Linked DNA regions of Homo sapiens: regions 1, 3 and 4 are each linked to region 2. The links are contacts of gene promoters, found by promoter capture Hi-C in blood cells and fetal thymus (Javierre and others, 2016). All regions are on one chromosome and are shown on one strand. The core of a region is centred on a gene start or on the middle of the fragment in contact, and the rest is flanking DNA. Distances in the headings are between cores, read along the strand shown. Region 1 holds the start of TMEM38B (transmembrane protein 38B). Region 2 holds the start of RAD23B (RAD23 nucleotide excision repair protein B). Region 3 overlaps TMEM245 (transmembrane protein 245). Region 4 holds the start of CTNNAL1 (catenin alpha like 1).

Region 1 (3,012 bases), core at 307-2,806, 1.6 Mb before region 2:
AAAAAAGAAGTAATATCCAAACTCTGAGCCTAAATTCGCAAAACTAAAATTCCAAAAATAAGCGAATGTGTAAAAAGTATGGAAAGAACAGACTTAAACAGGAAAGTATAAATATTCACAGGTGGTTTTTTTCCCCTTAGTTTTGCTAGAAAGTGTGCTACAGGTCTAAAGACTTTTCTCTACGGGAAGTGCTTGCTTAGAAAACCACACGTGAAAAGTATTTGAACAAGTCTATTCTTTCTTGATAAGTAATGAAGTGTAGAGATTTACTACAATTTTCCTACGTTTTAAACACTTAGTGTTTAGGGCAGTATTTCTGACATCCAGCAAAATGCTGGTTACATAGTAGGCACGCAAAAAACATTTTGTTAAATGAATTAAAATTAATGAATACATATTCAGATAAAAAAAATTCTCCTTTTGCAGTGCATACACCCGTGAAGCTGTCACCTACCTAGCAGCTAATCACGTTTCTCCAATTTCCTGGTGCCAGCATAATCTGTTCACACATCAAATAAGTGTGCCAAGCTAGTTTTTTTTCTTACCCAAACCTATTCCTTCTTGTTTCCTATTTATCAGAATGCAACCACAATCCTCCTACTCACCCGTTCCTCATTTTATTTGACAAATGCTTCCTTTCCCGCCTGTACAGACTGACACTCACTGACGATATTCTGCTTCTACCCATGTTTCCCACAATTGGTCTCAATTTCTGCTGCCACAGCCTCCACTACCTTTTGCTTGGACCAGTGAATACCCTCTGATTTTCCGTTGTCAGTCGCTTCTCATCAATCTATTCTTAATCTTGTTGCTTCGTTGCACCTCTACTCCCTCACCTTCCACCAAACAACCCAGTTAGCGTAGAGATTAGGAGAAGAGATTCTGGCTCTGAGCTTAACATAGTGATTGATCAAGAATTTAACCTCTGGAGCCAAACTGCCTGGCTTTGTCTGCCATTCGAGGACTTTTCCCAACCTCATTTCTCACTTTGTAGTCAACCCAAAACACCTCCCTCCATCTCCCACCTAGCTTGTGTTTCTCACTTAACTTTTAAAGTCCAGCTCACATGTCACTTTACTCACTTCCCAGAATTGTAATCTTCGTTTCGAACTGCTCTCGCACGGCAGCTATACTTCTCAGTACCTGCTTTTGTACCATTATGTGCGTTTTTTCTCTTTTTATAAAAAATCTCTTTCAGGGAACGCATAGTTCTTGAGGTCAGGATATTATTGTTTTATTTTTATATCTCCAGTAAGTCACAGTGTGACTTGCACTGTGGTTGCTCGATAAATGTTAGGTGAATGACATCAATTTACAGAAATAAATCCAACTCTGAGCGTCTCCCCTTGAGGACCGTGTTTTGTTCATCTGCACGCTCTCCAGGTCCTGCACTGCGCCCAGGACCAAGAAGACGCTGGACCCTTACTAGGAGAACCGAGGCAAGAGCCGGCTGGAGCCGCGGGGAACCCGCTCGCCCCGCCCACCCGCCTAGCGCCGGTGAGCCTGCGGCTCCCGCGAAGCGCGGCCCCGCCCCCTCGGCGCCAGGGCGCACGCGCGGAGCTGGAGCCGGCGCGGAGGAGCGGGCGGCCGCGGCTGTGCCCTCTCCTACTCCTCACCGCGCGAGCGCGGGGAACCAGTAGCCGCGGCTGCTTCGGTTGCCGCGGTCGGTGGTCGTTATGGATTCTCCATGGGACGAGTTGGCTCTGGCCTTCTCCCGCACGTCCATGTTTCCCTTTTTTGACATCGCGCACTATCTAGTGTCAGTGATGGCGGTGAAACGTCAGCCGGGTGAGTGCGGGGCGCCGCGGGCCGGACCCCTCAGAGTGCTCCTGACGGCGAGGACCGTCTAAGTCGGGTGGGTCGGGTGGGTCGGGTGGGCGGCTGAGTGGCCGCTAGCCCAGACAGTTCGATGGTAGAGTTGGAGGGGCGCCAAGGGCCGGTTGGTCTGACTTACTGAGTGCAGATGGGGAAACAGCGTGGGGGAGGACGGAGGCTCTAGTACTCCTCAAAGGAGGCGTGACCTGGGGTCCGCGAGGCCGTAGCCTGGGCGAGCAGGGCCGACCTTGCCAACCGCCCGCAGAAGTCCCAGGACTGACAGAAGCTGCCGCAGCGTTTCGGAACCACAGATATCCGCGCCAGCCCAGGGCTTGGGCGGCCTCCTCGCGGTACCGCCACTCGCTCGCAGTGTCGCCACTCGCTCGCAGTGTCGCCACTCGCTCGCAGTGTTTGAAAGTCATGTGAGGAGACAGCAGGTTTCTGACTCAGTCTCTTGGAGTAATAGATGGTTGCGGACTACTCTCCAGTTATGAAAGTTGTACAAGCACTGAAACAAAAAGCCTCCTGTAGCCAGACCAGGATTCCCCTTCACGCAGTGTCCTAACACCCTGCCTAGCATGTGAGAAGCGAGTGCGTTCCCCTTTTCACAGTCACGACGGACACTGTACAAGCAAGAGTTACCTGGCGTAGTTTCACTATCTGCAGAATGGGGATATAGTCTTGAAACAGCATTTTGAGTTCTTTTAGCAATGCGATCAAGGGACAGTAGTTGTATTTTATTGGATTTTACACCAGGGTGCGTTTGCTCTAATACTGCTTTACTTTTGTAGTTATTCTACTGTGCTTTTAGTTGTATGGACCTCTTCTTTCTTTGAGGTCAGACATTTCTTTGCCTACTTTCTTTGTGTTCTTGCTGTCTTTCATCTGCCTTGCCCTACGGATAGTTGATGAGTGAGGTCTGGAGGATGATGCTGTATCTTTCTTATGGACTACTTACTGGTTTTAAAAAATCCTTAGACCTCAGAAATATTTTTCATTTATGTTGAAGTTTGTAGCTCAGTTTAAATCGTTGGTACAAATTTTGACCTGGATGAGGATGGTATTACTGCATTAAAGTAGAACACATTATCTGCATAAGATATTATTTCTTTGATTTGAAAAAAGTAAGTTTTGTTGCTACTACATGTTCAGAATTTGATTAAAAAAATTTTTTTTTGTATAGGCTGAATCAGATGT
Region 2 (3,174 bases), core at 641-3,140:
AAGACAGAGGGCAGAAGATTGCATATTTAATTACTATGAAGGGAGTTATGTGTTGTGAAAGGGGAAATATCAGGTTAGTGGAGGGAGAAGCTGGTCAAGGAAAGTTTCTTGAAAACATTAAACCCAAGCTCCTTGAAGCCACTGAAAACCAAGCAGTGACATTGTATTAGTGAGGATGCTGTCCCAGAGAAGTAATTTGTAATTGGTCATAGAGCTAGTGGCCTGACTAGAACTGTGTTTTATACTTGAACTAAATCAAATGTGCCACAGGCACAGTATAAAACAGAGGAGAATAGCTGGGAGCGATGGCTCACATATAATCCCAGCACTTTGGGACTCCGAAGCAGGAGGATTACTTGAGCCCAGGAGTTCAAGACCAGCCCTGGCAACATAGGGAGAACATATCTGTACAAAAAAATAAAATATCAGCTGGGAAGCAGTGGTGTGTGTCTGTGGTCCCAGCTACTCAAGAGGCTGAGGTGGAAGGATCTCTTGAGCTCAGGAGGTTGACGCTGCAGTGAGCCGTGTTTGTGCTACAGCGCTCCAGCGTGGATGACAGTCAGACGCTTTAAAAAAATAAGAATAATCTTTAAAACAAAAAACAGGGGAATAGTGGCACACCCTGGGACACAGACTCTGGAGTCATTCTGTCTGAGGTCACATTGTGGATTTGCCATTTACTACTGGCTGGGTTATTCCAGGTGCATTACTCAACATCTCTGTACTTCAGTTTTCTATCTGTAAACGGACTTTCTACTAATAGCTAACTGCTTACAGACTGTTTATCATGATTTTACATACAATATTCAACTTCCCCCTCCAATAATCAATGAGTGACATTATTATTCTCATTCTACTGCTGAGGATCCAGAAGCACATTCACCCATTCCACAAATATTTACCGTGCACCTGCAATGTGCCAGGCATGTTCATGGGTGAACACAGCAAAATCTTTGCCTCTGTGCAGCTTCAGTCTGGGGTTCACAGGAAAAGGAGAAAGATGATAAACAAGAGATACGTACATTACAGGGTAATTATAAAGGGATACCCGCTATACAAGAAAACAGAGCAGGATAACAGAGATAGGAAGTTGGGATTTTAAGTAAGGCAGCCAGAACAGACCTCACCAAGAAGGCAATATCTGAGCAAGGATGTTAAGGGAGCCGGGGGCAACCTAGAATCCACCAGTGGGGAGAGTAAGGCGACTCGGAGAAAGGCGAGGGGCTAATGCATCCGTTCTAATAACTCTGACTTTAACTCGGGGCTAGATGGGGAAACACTGGACAGTTCTACCCCGAGGTGTGACAGAACTTGACCTTCATTTTAAATCGGTCCATCTGTTTAGGCTAGTGAGAAAAAACAATATTTGAACTCGGGCAGTCCAGCTCAGGAGTCTGTGCTGTCGGGATTAAAGAATCAGTCGACACCCCCAGGGCTGAGCCCCGCAGCAAGCGCCCCGCGGGTGCTGGCCCCCAGACTGTGGTTACCGCCATCCTTTCACTTAAACTCCGCCCCGATTACTCCCCCGCTCCAGGGCTCCGCATCCACTCTGCCGGGTCTCCACGAAGCGCTTCCCGGGCTACACATTGCGTAACTTCGGCAGCCGGGCGGAGCCTGCACAGAGGCGGAGCCGCGGCAGCCGGAGAGAACGCCCCAGCAATAGTCGCTAGGAGGAAGCCCCAGGAGCCCTTGCCGCCCACGGAACGCGCCTGCGTAATCCGGGTCCAGGCCGCCGACATTCCAGGACCGCCTTCCGCCCCGCCCCCAATTCTGGGGCGGAGTCCTCGGCCGCGCCGGCGCAAAGCGTCGCCGCACCCCACGCCTGCGCGCTTCGCCCGCCCGGCCCCATCCCCCCAGGTTTTTCGCGTGGGGGAGGGGGCACGTCTCGGCGAGTCACGATGATGGCGGCCACCATCCTGTGGTGAGCTAGCGGATTCCCTGCTTGTCTCGCCGACCCCCTCGCGCCTTCTGCAGACTCCGTGGCTGGCGCTCGGCGCGTGAGGAAGCACGGCGGCCCGAGTTCGCGGGGAAGGCCGCAGTCGCGGAGGCAGCGGCGCGGTCCGGGGCACGGGCTGGGGGAGAGGCCGCTCCGCTGGGCGAATGTGACAAGCCCCCACCCCCACCGCCTTCCTCCCCAGAGCGCGAGGAGCGCGGGCGACCCCGGGGCCCCGCCAGGCCACAGACCCCGCCCAGCGGCCAGCACCCGGCGCAGGCCCGGCAGCCGAGCTGCGCGGCGGCACCATGCAGGTCACCCTGAAGACCCTCCAGCAGCAGACCTTCAAGATAGACATTGACCCCGAGGAGACGGTATGCGCGCGGGCCGGGGGCAGGGGCAGCCGCGTGCGGGCCGCGGGGAGCGCCAGGAGCTCGTGGGGCCGGGCGGCGCGCTCCAGCGGGGGAAGCCCCGGAGGGCGCGATGAGGGCCCTGGGTCCTGGTGCCGGCCCTGGCGGCGTACAGCGGAGCCGATCCTCCTGTCTTGGCCGTGGGCTTTGTGGCAGGAGAATGGGGAAGCAGTGGCCGGACGCCGAAGGCCTGGTGGCAGATGGCGTGGAGCGCACGCCCGCGGGCCTGGGCCTAGGAGCTCGTGCTAGCGGGGCCGGAGGGGGATGGGAAGGTCCAGGCCGTCTCAGCCGTAGAGCCTGGCTTTCTGGTATGGGTGCACAGGTGGGGGAGGGAGACGTAGGCGTCGCCACTACCCCTGTGTGGACCTGGTTAGCCGCTTAGTTCCCAGAGTTGGTAACCCGAGAAGATGAGCCTTAAGAAAAAAAAAAGTATCAGGTTCCGTTTGCCGCCGAGAGGTGAGTGGTGGTGAAAATGAATTTGCCCCTTTCCCCTCAGAATTGTTTACCCTTTTATTTGCAAATGAATCGTTCTGCTGCCTTCCTCCCGCCACCAAACCCACACCCTTGCGTAGATTGCACTTTGAGGCCTCTTTGGTGATGGTTTTAGCTGTTAGAGCTCTTCACAGCCATCCAGGCTCAAACTAAACTTCAGATTTAACGGGTTTTCTGTGTTAGAAATCTTGGAATTGTAGGAGTTGGAACGCTGCAGCCACCCTCCCCCGATGCCCCAAACAGTAGCAGTTCAAGGGGGAAAAAAGAAAAAAAAAACAAAAAACAACAACTTTGAATCCTTTCTGCAGTTAAAGCCTTAAACATTTCAGAAGTCCACAT
Region 3 (3,323 bases), core at 785-3,284, 1.8 Mb after region 2:
CCAGCCTGGCCAACATGGTGAAACCCCATCTCTACAACAATACAAATATTAGCCAGGCATGATGGCGGGTGCCTGGAATCCCAGCTACTCGGGAGGCTGGGGCAGAAGAATCACTTGAACCCAGGAGGTGGAGGCTGCAGTGAGCTGAGATCATGCCACTGCACTCCAGCCCGGCCAACAGAACGAGACTCCATCTCAAAAACAGAAAAAAAAAATTAAAAAGAGTAAGACCTAGTATTTGATAGCATAACAGGGTGACTATAGTCAATAATTTAACTGTATATTTTAAAATAACTAAGAGTATAATTGGATTATTTATAACAAAGGATAAATACTTGAGGGGATGGATACCCCATTTTACTTGATGTGATTATTACACATTACATGCCTGTGTCAAAACATTCCATGTACCCCATAAATATATACACCTACTATGTAGCCACAAAAATTAAAATTTAAAATTAAAAAAAACACTAAAAAATTAAAGAGTAACGAAATAAATGGAAATGCATCCCACGCTCATAAATTGTAAGGTTTTTGTGGTTTTGTCTTTTTATATTGTAAAGATGGCAATGCTCCCCCCCGCCCACAAGTGATCTCTAGATTGAATGCAATCCCTATCAAAATCCCAAAAGGCTTTTTTGTAAAAACAGGAAAGCTGATCATAAATATGGAAATGCAAGGGACCCCAAAATAGTCAAAACAATTTTGAAAAGGAAGAACAAAGTTGGAGAACTCACACTTCTCAATTTCAAAACTACAGTAATCAAAAGAATGTGTTAACTGACATTAAGGAGAGACATATAGATCAGTGAAACACAACAGAAAGGGCAGAAATAAACCCATATATATATGGTCAACTGATTTCTGACAAGGGTGCCAAGGCCATCTTCAACAGTGCTGGGAGAACTGAATATACACAGGCAAAAGAATGAGGTTGGATCCTTACCTCACATCATTTACAAAAATTATTTCAAAACGGATCAATGACCTAAATATAAGAGATAAAAATATAAAATTCTTAAAAGGAAACTTAAGGGTAAGTATTTACGACCTTGGATTTGGCAATTGTTTGTCAGATGACATCAAAAACACAAGCAATAAAAGAAAAAGTAGATAAACTGGACTTCATCAAAAAAATTTCTTTGCATCAAAAGAGACTATCAAGAGAGTAAAAATACAACCCACCAATGGAATATTTAAAAATCATATATTTGATAAGGGTCTAGTATCTAGAATATGTAAAGAATTCCTAAAACGCAACAACAAAAAGGCAAACAATTTAATTTTTTTTAAAGGGGAAAGAATTTGAATAGACATTTCTCCAAAGAAGAGAAACAAATGGCCAAAAAGCAAATGAAAAGATGCTCAACATCATTAGTCATTACGGAAATGCAAATGAAAACCATAATGAGATACCACTTCACACCCACTGGACTGGCCATTATCAAAAAGTGGAAAATAATAGGTGTTGGCAAGGATGCAAAGAAATTAGAATCCTCATACACTGCTGGTAGAAATCTGAATGGTACATCTGCTGTGGAAAACAGTTTGGCAGTTCCTTAAAAAATTAAACACAGAATTACCATACGACCCAGTAATTCTACTCATAGGTAAACAAAGAACTGAAAACGTGTATTCAAATAAATACTTGCACACAAGTTCATAGCAGCACTATTCACAATAGACAAATGGTAGAAATAACCCAAATATCCATCAACTGATGAGTAAATAAACAAAATGTGGTGTGCTCTTACCATGGAATATTATTCAGCCATAAAAAGGAATGAAGTACTGATATATGTACAGGGTTTCTTTCTGAGGTAATGAAAATGTCTTGGAACTAGATACAGGTCATGGATGCACAACATTGTGACATATTGTATGCCTGTTTTTTTTTTTGAGACGGAGTCTCGCTCTGTTGCCAGGCTGGAGTGCAGTGGTGCGATCTCGGCTCTCACTGCAACCTCCACCTCCTGGGTTCAAGCAATTCTTCTGCCTCAGCCTCCCGAGTAGCAGGGACTACAGGCACATGCCAACCATGCCCAGCTAATTTTTGTATTTTTAGTAGAGACGGGGTTTCACCATATTGGCCAGGCTGGTCTCGAACTCCTGACCTCGTGATCCGCTTGCCTCAGCCTCCCAAAGTGCTGGGATTACAGACGTGAGCCACTGCGCACGGCCTGTAGGCCATTTTTACGTGATTACTGCACCTGTAGCCCTCGCTACTTGGGAGGATAAGGTTGGAAAACCCCTGAGCCCAGGAGTTCAAGGTTACAGTGAGCTATGATTGTGCCACTGCACTCCAGCCTGGAAACAGAGCAAGACCTTGTCACTAAAAAATAAAATAAAAATATTTTATTTTATAAAAATAAAATATTTTAATAAAATTAAAATACAATGGCTTATGGTTAACTTTAAGTTATACATGCCTCAATAAAATAATACCAAAACAAATCATGGTCTAACAACCTAAAATATTTTAAACAATTTATTTTCCACTCAGAAACCATCATAGGTTTTTAAATAGATTCAAAGCTGTTTCATCATAGCATTTTTTAAAAAGCTACTCTCCAAAATACTTCAAAGAGTAGTATTAATAGAATGCCCTATTTCTTACCAGAAGACTCTTTTCCATTCTGTTTTTCATAGAGGGTACCCACAGACATCAGGAAAACAATAACCAGGAATACTGGAATTCTCCATGAGCCAGCCAGGGATGCTGCAAATTATTAAGAATTAACATTTTTAGTGAAATAAAAACCTAGTACTTGTTTTTACAAAACTCAGTTTTGTAGTTTGACAGAACAATCTGGTATATATATTAGTTACAGAATTACTTATCAGGCAAAAAAAAAAAAATTTAAGTCCATTAGATAAACTTCAAGATTTCTCAAAATTAAGTTCATCCCTGCTCTCAGAGGCCCCTGGTCAAATGGATAGGGTACATGCCTGCCTACCTTTAATGGGGTTCTATTAAAGAGAGTCTATTGTAACGTATACCAAAGGTCTAAAACCATCCCGAACTCAAACCATCTACTTCACCCCAGAATGACCAGAATTAGGCATAGATCTCAAAGCCATAAAGTCTGCCTTGGTTTCTTGAAAATACCACCGGGCGTGAACTTTCTCTCCCAAGAAAGAGAATGGCCCAAAAGAGCACAGCAAAACCATCAATGTCTCCTCCTCAGTGTATAATGCAAAAATGTTTACAAGTTGGCTGGGCGCAGTGGCTCACACCTGTAATCCCAGCACTTTGGGGGGCTGAGGCAGGTGGCTAATTTGAGGTCAGGAGTTCGAGACCAGCCTGGCCAGCATGGTGA
Region 4 (3,361 bases), core at 37-2,536, 1.7 Mb after region 2:
CTGGGCAGGAGAAGAGATAATAGCATTTAGAATTCTATGCAACAGCTACAGGCTCCCCTTCACTGAACATGTTTAAGCAGGGTACTGGTGGCCAGGTGTCAAGGATGCTAAAGAAAGAATTTTTAGTCAGATAATCTTTAAGATTTCTTCTACCTCTAAAATCTTGGTAATCCTAGTATGAGTCACGAAGTGGTTACAACCTAGATGTGAGTCACACATCGCCAACGCGCTCCCGAAGGCACAGAATTCACTCCCCACAGTGCTTGGCATCTTACCACAGACCTAAGTGAGGAATTCTAGCCCTGAAGCTGCATATAACCCAGCTCAGAGAAACAAAAACTTTCCTAAAACTCAGGGCGTCGGTTAGCTGATTGGCAAATACAGTAACGCACACATCCCAAACGGGACTTGGCAAAACGGTGTGCATCTGGATTAACTGTCATACAGTCTCCACGTCACTCTTCCACGAGGCCGGACAGAAGCGGGCAGAAGTGAGCAGCAGCAGGTTCAGGGGAAGGGGTAGGGTGGCCGGGATGAATGGGAGGCCAGCGAACTGACCTACGGCGGGGAGGGACAAAGGATCAGGGAGCGCACGCTGGGCGGGGAGGCCGGGAGGAATACCCCAGGCGGAGGAGCCGGGCTCGGGACCAGGCTGCGAACTGGTGACAAAGTCGGTTATCGTGGAGGGCCCTAAGTACCAGCGAGGGGCCCCGCGGGGGTCCTCTCTGCCTCGGGAGCTGGGCTCAACCACTCGCCCCGCGGAGGGGGCATCGCCCGGCCGGGGGCACCCGGGAGCCGCAGACCCGAGGCAGGTACTGGGGGCAAAGGCCCAGGCCGGCACCCCCGCCCCGCAGCCTCCCCTGCTGCCGAGTCCACTCAACCCTGCCGCCGGAGTTTGGATTATCCAGTCTCTCGCCGCCCGGGCCGAGGCCCGTCCCGGAGCCCCACACAGGCGGTCCGACAAGAACGCCGCAGTGCCGGCGCGGAAAGTGGGGCAGCGGCTGCCTCCCGTCCGGTCGTGCGAGCGGCGGCCGCCATCGCGGGCCGCGGCGGGAAGGAGAAGAGGGGCCGCGCCAGGCGCCACTTTACCTGAGAAACCAGCGGGAGTAGCGTCTGCTCCACCGAGCGAGTTTTGATCTCCAGTCCCGAGTCGAGGGCGAAGCCCGAAGAGCCGGAGCCGTAGACTGCTCCGGCGCCGCCAACGCCGGCGGGTCCGGGAGAGGCGGCCATGGCCCTCGGTCTATCCCGCAGCCGGGACTCCGCGCCGCGGCGAGCCTGCCGCCAGTCAGCCCACCCGCCCGAGGCGGCGGCGACAGGACACTCGCGCCAACCGAGACCCCGCCCCCAGGGGCCCGCCCCCCCAGGGCTCCGCCGCCAACCCTGCGTCCCCGACGCCCGTCACCGTATGTCCCCGCCCACCCCCGGCCTCTGCCCCGCCCGCGCAGTCCAGCCTGGTGTGGGCTCCCTGCAACCCCACCCCCTAAGCCGGGTCCCGCCCCCACATGGCCCCGCCCTTATCTCTTCTCAGACCCCTTCCATGGGTTCCAGGCACCTTCTCGCCAGGGTGGCGAGGAGAAACAAAACACATCTGTCACACAGCCACATGGCCTCCTCTTACTTGGACAGACAAGCGTCCCCAGCAAAGCTTCCCGTCCTCTCGATAGGTGACTCGTCCTAAATCAGCTCTGAATTCCCGCAAAGACTTCTGGAAGCTGTGCTGGGGTTGAAACTGGTAGACCAAAACCAGAATCAAGTCTGTTGGGAGGGGCCTTTCCCCTGGGACGGGAATTCCAGTGGTAATGTCTTCCTGGGGCTTCTCCGGAAGGTCCAATTTCCACTCCACCCTGCTCATTCTTTCACCATGTATTTCTCACAAACACTTTGAGCTGGATTGAAGGGGAAACATTTGATAATGCAATCATTAATGGAGTATCTGGGTATTCGGCAGGAAGTCAGTATATCTTTCACACTACTGTTTAGACTTATTCAAAAGAAATTTAAAAGAAACATGAAAAAGCCTCATCTACTGTTCAACACTACTTCTTAAAACTATTTTTCGAAGTTTTTTCCTAGTGCCAGGCACAGAGCAGTTTCTTCATAACTGTTCATTGCATGAAAACACCAAGTGTGTATTTCTGACAACTCACTTGAGGGGAAGGGTAAGAATCAGTTCTGTAAGCACAACTCTGAGCTCGCACAGAGCCCCACGATGGGGGCGGGGAGCTGAAGACTCCTATTCTAAGGTCTCCAGGAGCAAGGCCAAAAGGAGGTTGTCAGCAGTATGCACGCCGTGAAGGAATTCCAGACTTAAGCAACAGACTGAGAAGCATGAAAAAATGTTTTGTCAACTACCATATCTGCCAGTGAGAACCTGTCAGAGTAAAAAAGAATCTGAGGCTGGCCAGTCCACCCGGACACCTTGGCCTGGATCATTTCTTCTTCCATAACACCAGATTGATGAGCTGGGTACATCAACCTGAGGCATAAGAAAGCTCTTTCCCAAGCACCGTTGAAAGGCGCTTCACAGTGCTTCAACCTGTAGCTTCAGCTTCATCAATCTACCAGTGCTGCACAGCTGTCTTTGGTATTGAAGATAGCCAAGCTTCAGCTTCTTTTTCTTCATTCAAAAAGGACAGGTCCTCAATCCAACTTTTTCTTCCAATTCTTCTCAGCCAACCATCTCACCACTTCCTTACCTATCACAAGGCCACCTTCCCCTGTGCACTGAGGGCCCTTGACCTCTTTAAGGCGCCCAGTGTCCACTTCCTGGACACACCTTCCCTTACGAAGTTGACAGTATCTCCTAAGAATTCAGTGTACACAATGGTGCCGGAGGAAATGGCATAACAGAAGGCCTAAGAGACGGATGGATTCATGAAACTTTGGCTTCACAAAAGATCAAGTTTTTCAACACACAGGAGATTAAGTTTACCACATGATTCATTCAACACTAGTAATTTTATTTCAAAATATAAATATTTCACATTAATAAAGAAGTTACATCAGTAGGTTGTCAAAGCAAGTTAGCTAAGAAACAGCATTTGTGTGAGAACAGAGGGTATTTATTGTATTCGAATATTCTTTTTTACTTTTGAATTGCCTCCTTCACCTGAGAACCCAGGGATGATACATTTTCAAAGAGTTATGTAAGCAATTACAACTCTATATCAAATCTTAGTTCAAAATCAAATTGTACTGGAAATACACTTCAGTTACCTAAATAAGTGGCACTGCAAAGGGCAAAGAAGGGTTTTCTTTGGGATGGCTACAATGAGAGTTACATCTGCTGGGTCTCTGCAATAAAAAATAAATGATATTTGATAATAAGCCAAAATTATCAGGATTTGCTTCCATACTTTTC

Evidence for each region. The method cuts DNA at HindIII sites, captures the fragments that hold promoters and counts their contacts. A CHiCAGO score of 5 or more calls a contact.
Region 1: a contact is called between the fragment with the promoter of TMEM38B here and the fragment with the promoter of RAD23B in region 2, in 1 of 17 cell types (naive CD8 T cells). The highest score is 5.7, in naive CD8 T cells.
Region 3: a contact is called between a fragment that was not itself captured here and the fragment with the promoter of RAD23B in region 2, in 1 of 17 cell types (naive CD8 T cells). The highest score is 6.0, in naive CD8 T cells.
Region 4: the fragment with the promoter of CTNNAL1 here is called in contact with the fragment with the promoter of RAD23B in region 2 in 6 of 17 cell types (activated CD4 T cells, total CD8 T cells, total CD4 T cells and 3 more); the score reaches 16.1 in activated CD4 T cells.

The regions. Positions count from the first base shown.
Region 1 is chr9:105,692,985-105,695,996 of GRCh38, forward strand. TMEM38B (transmembrane protein 38B) reads left to right here and starts at 1,557. Exons shown (of 6, transcript NM_018112.3): 1 at 1,557-1,788. The coding sequence starts at 1,677. RefSeq lists a silencer at 1,391-1,660. The HindIII fragment of the contact is 6,405 bases long and covers 1-3,012 here.
Region 2 is chr9:107,281,389-107,284,562 of GRCh38, forward strand. It overlaps RAD23B (RAD23 nucleotide excision repair protein B), which reads left to right and starts at 1,891. Exons shown (of 10, transcript NM_002874.5): 1 at 1,891-2,307. The coding sequence starts at 2,242. RefSeq lists an enhancer at 1,220-1,379 and a silencer at 1,870-2,429. The HindIII fragment of the contact is 9,258 bases long and covers 1-3,174 here.
Region 3 is chr9:109,103,888-109,107,210 of GRCh38, forward strand. It overlaps TMEM245 (transmembrane protein 245), which reads right to left. Exons shown (of 18, transcript NM_032012.4): 3 at 2,621-2,722. Among named protein-coding and RNA genes, the nearest start is that of TMEM245, 14 kb to the right of the region's middle. The HindIII fragment of the contact is 6,110 bases long and covers 1-3,323 here.
Region 4 is chr9:109,012,213-109,015,573 of GRCh38, forward strand. CTNNAL1 (catenin alpha like 1) reads right to left here and starts at 1,287. Exons shown (of 19, transcript NM_003798.4): 1 at 1,090-1,287. The coding sequence starts at 1,230. TMEM245 (transmembrane protein 245) reads right to left here. Exons shown (of 18, transcript NM_032012.4): 18 at 2,923-3,361. RefSeq lists an enhancer at 475-978 and a silencer at 640-1,529. The HindIII fragment of the contact is 6,099 bases long and covers 1-1,643 here.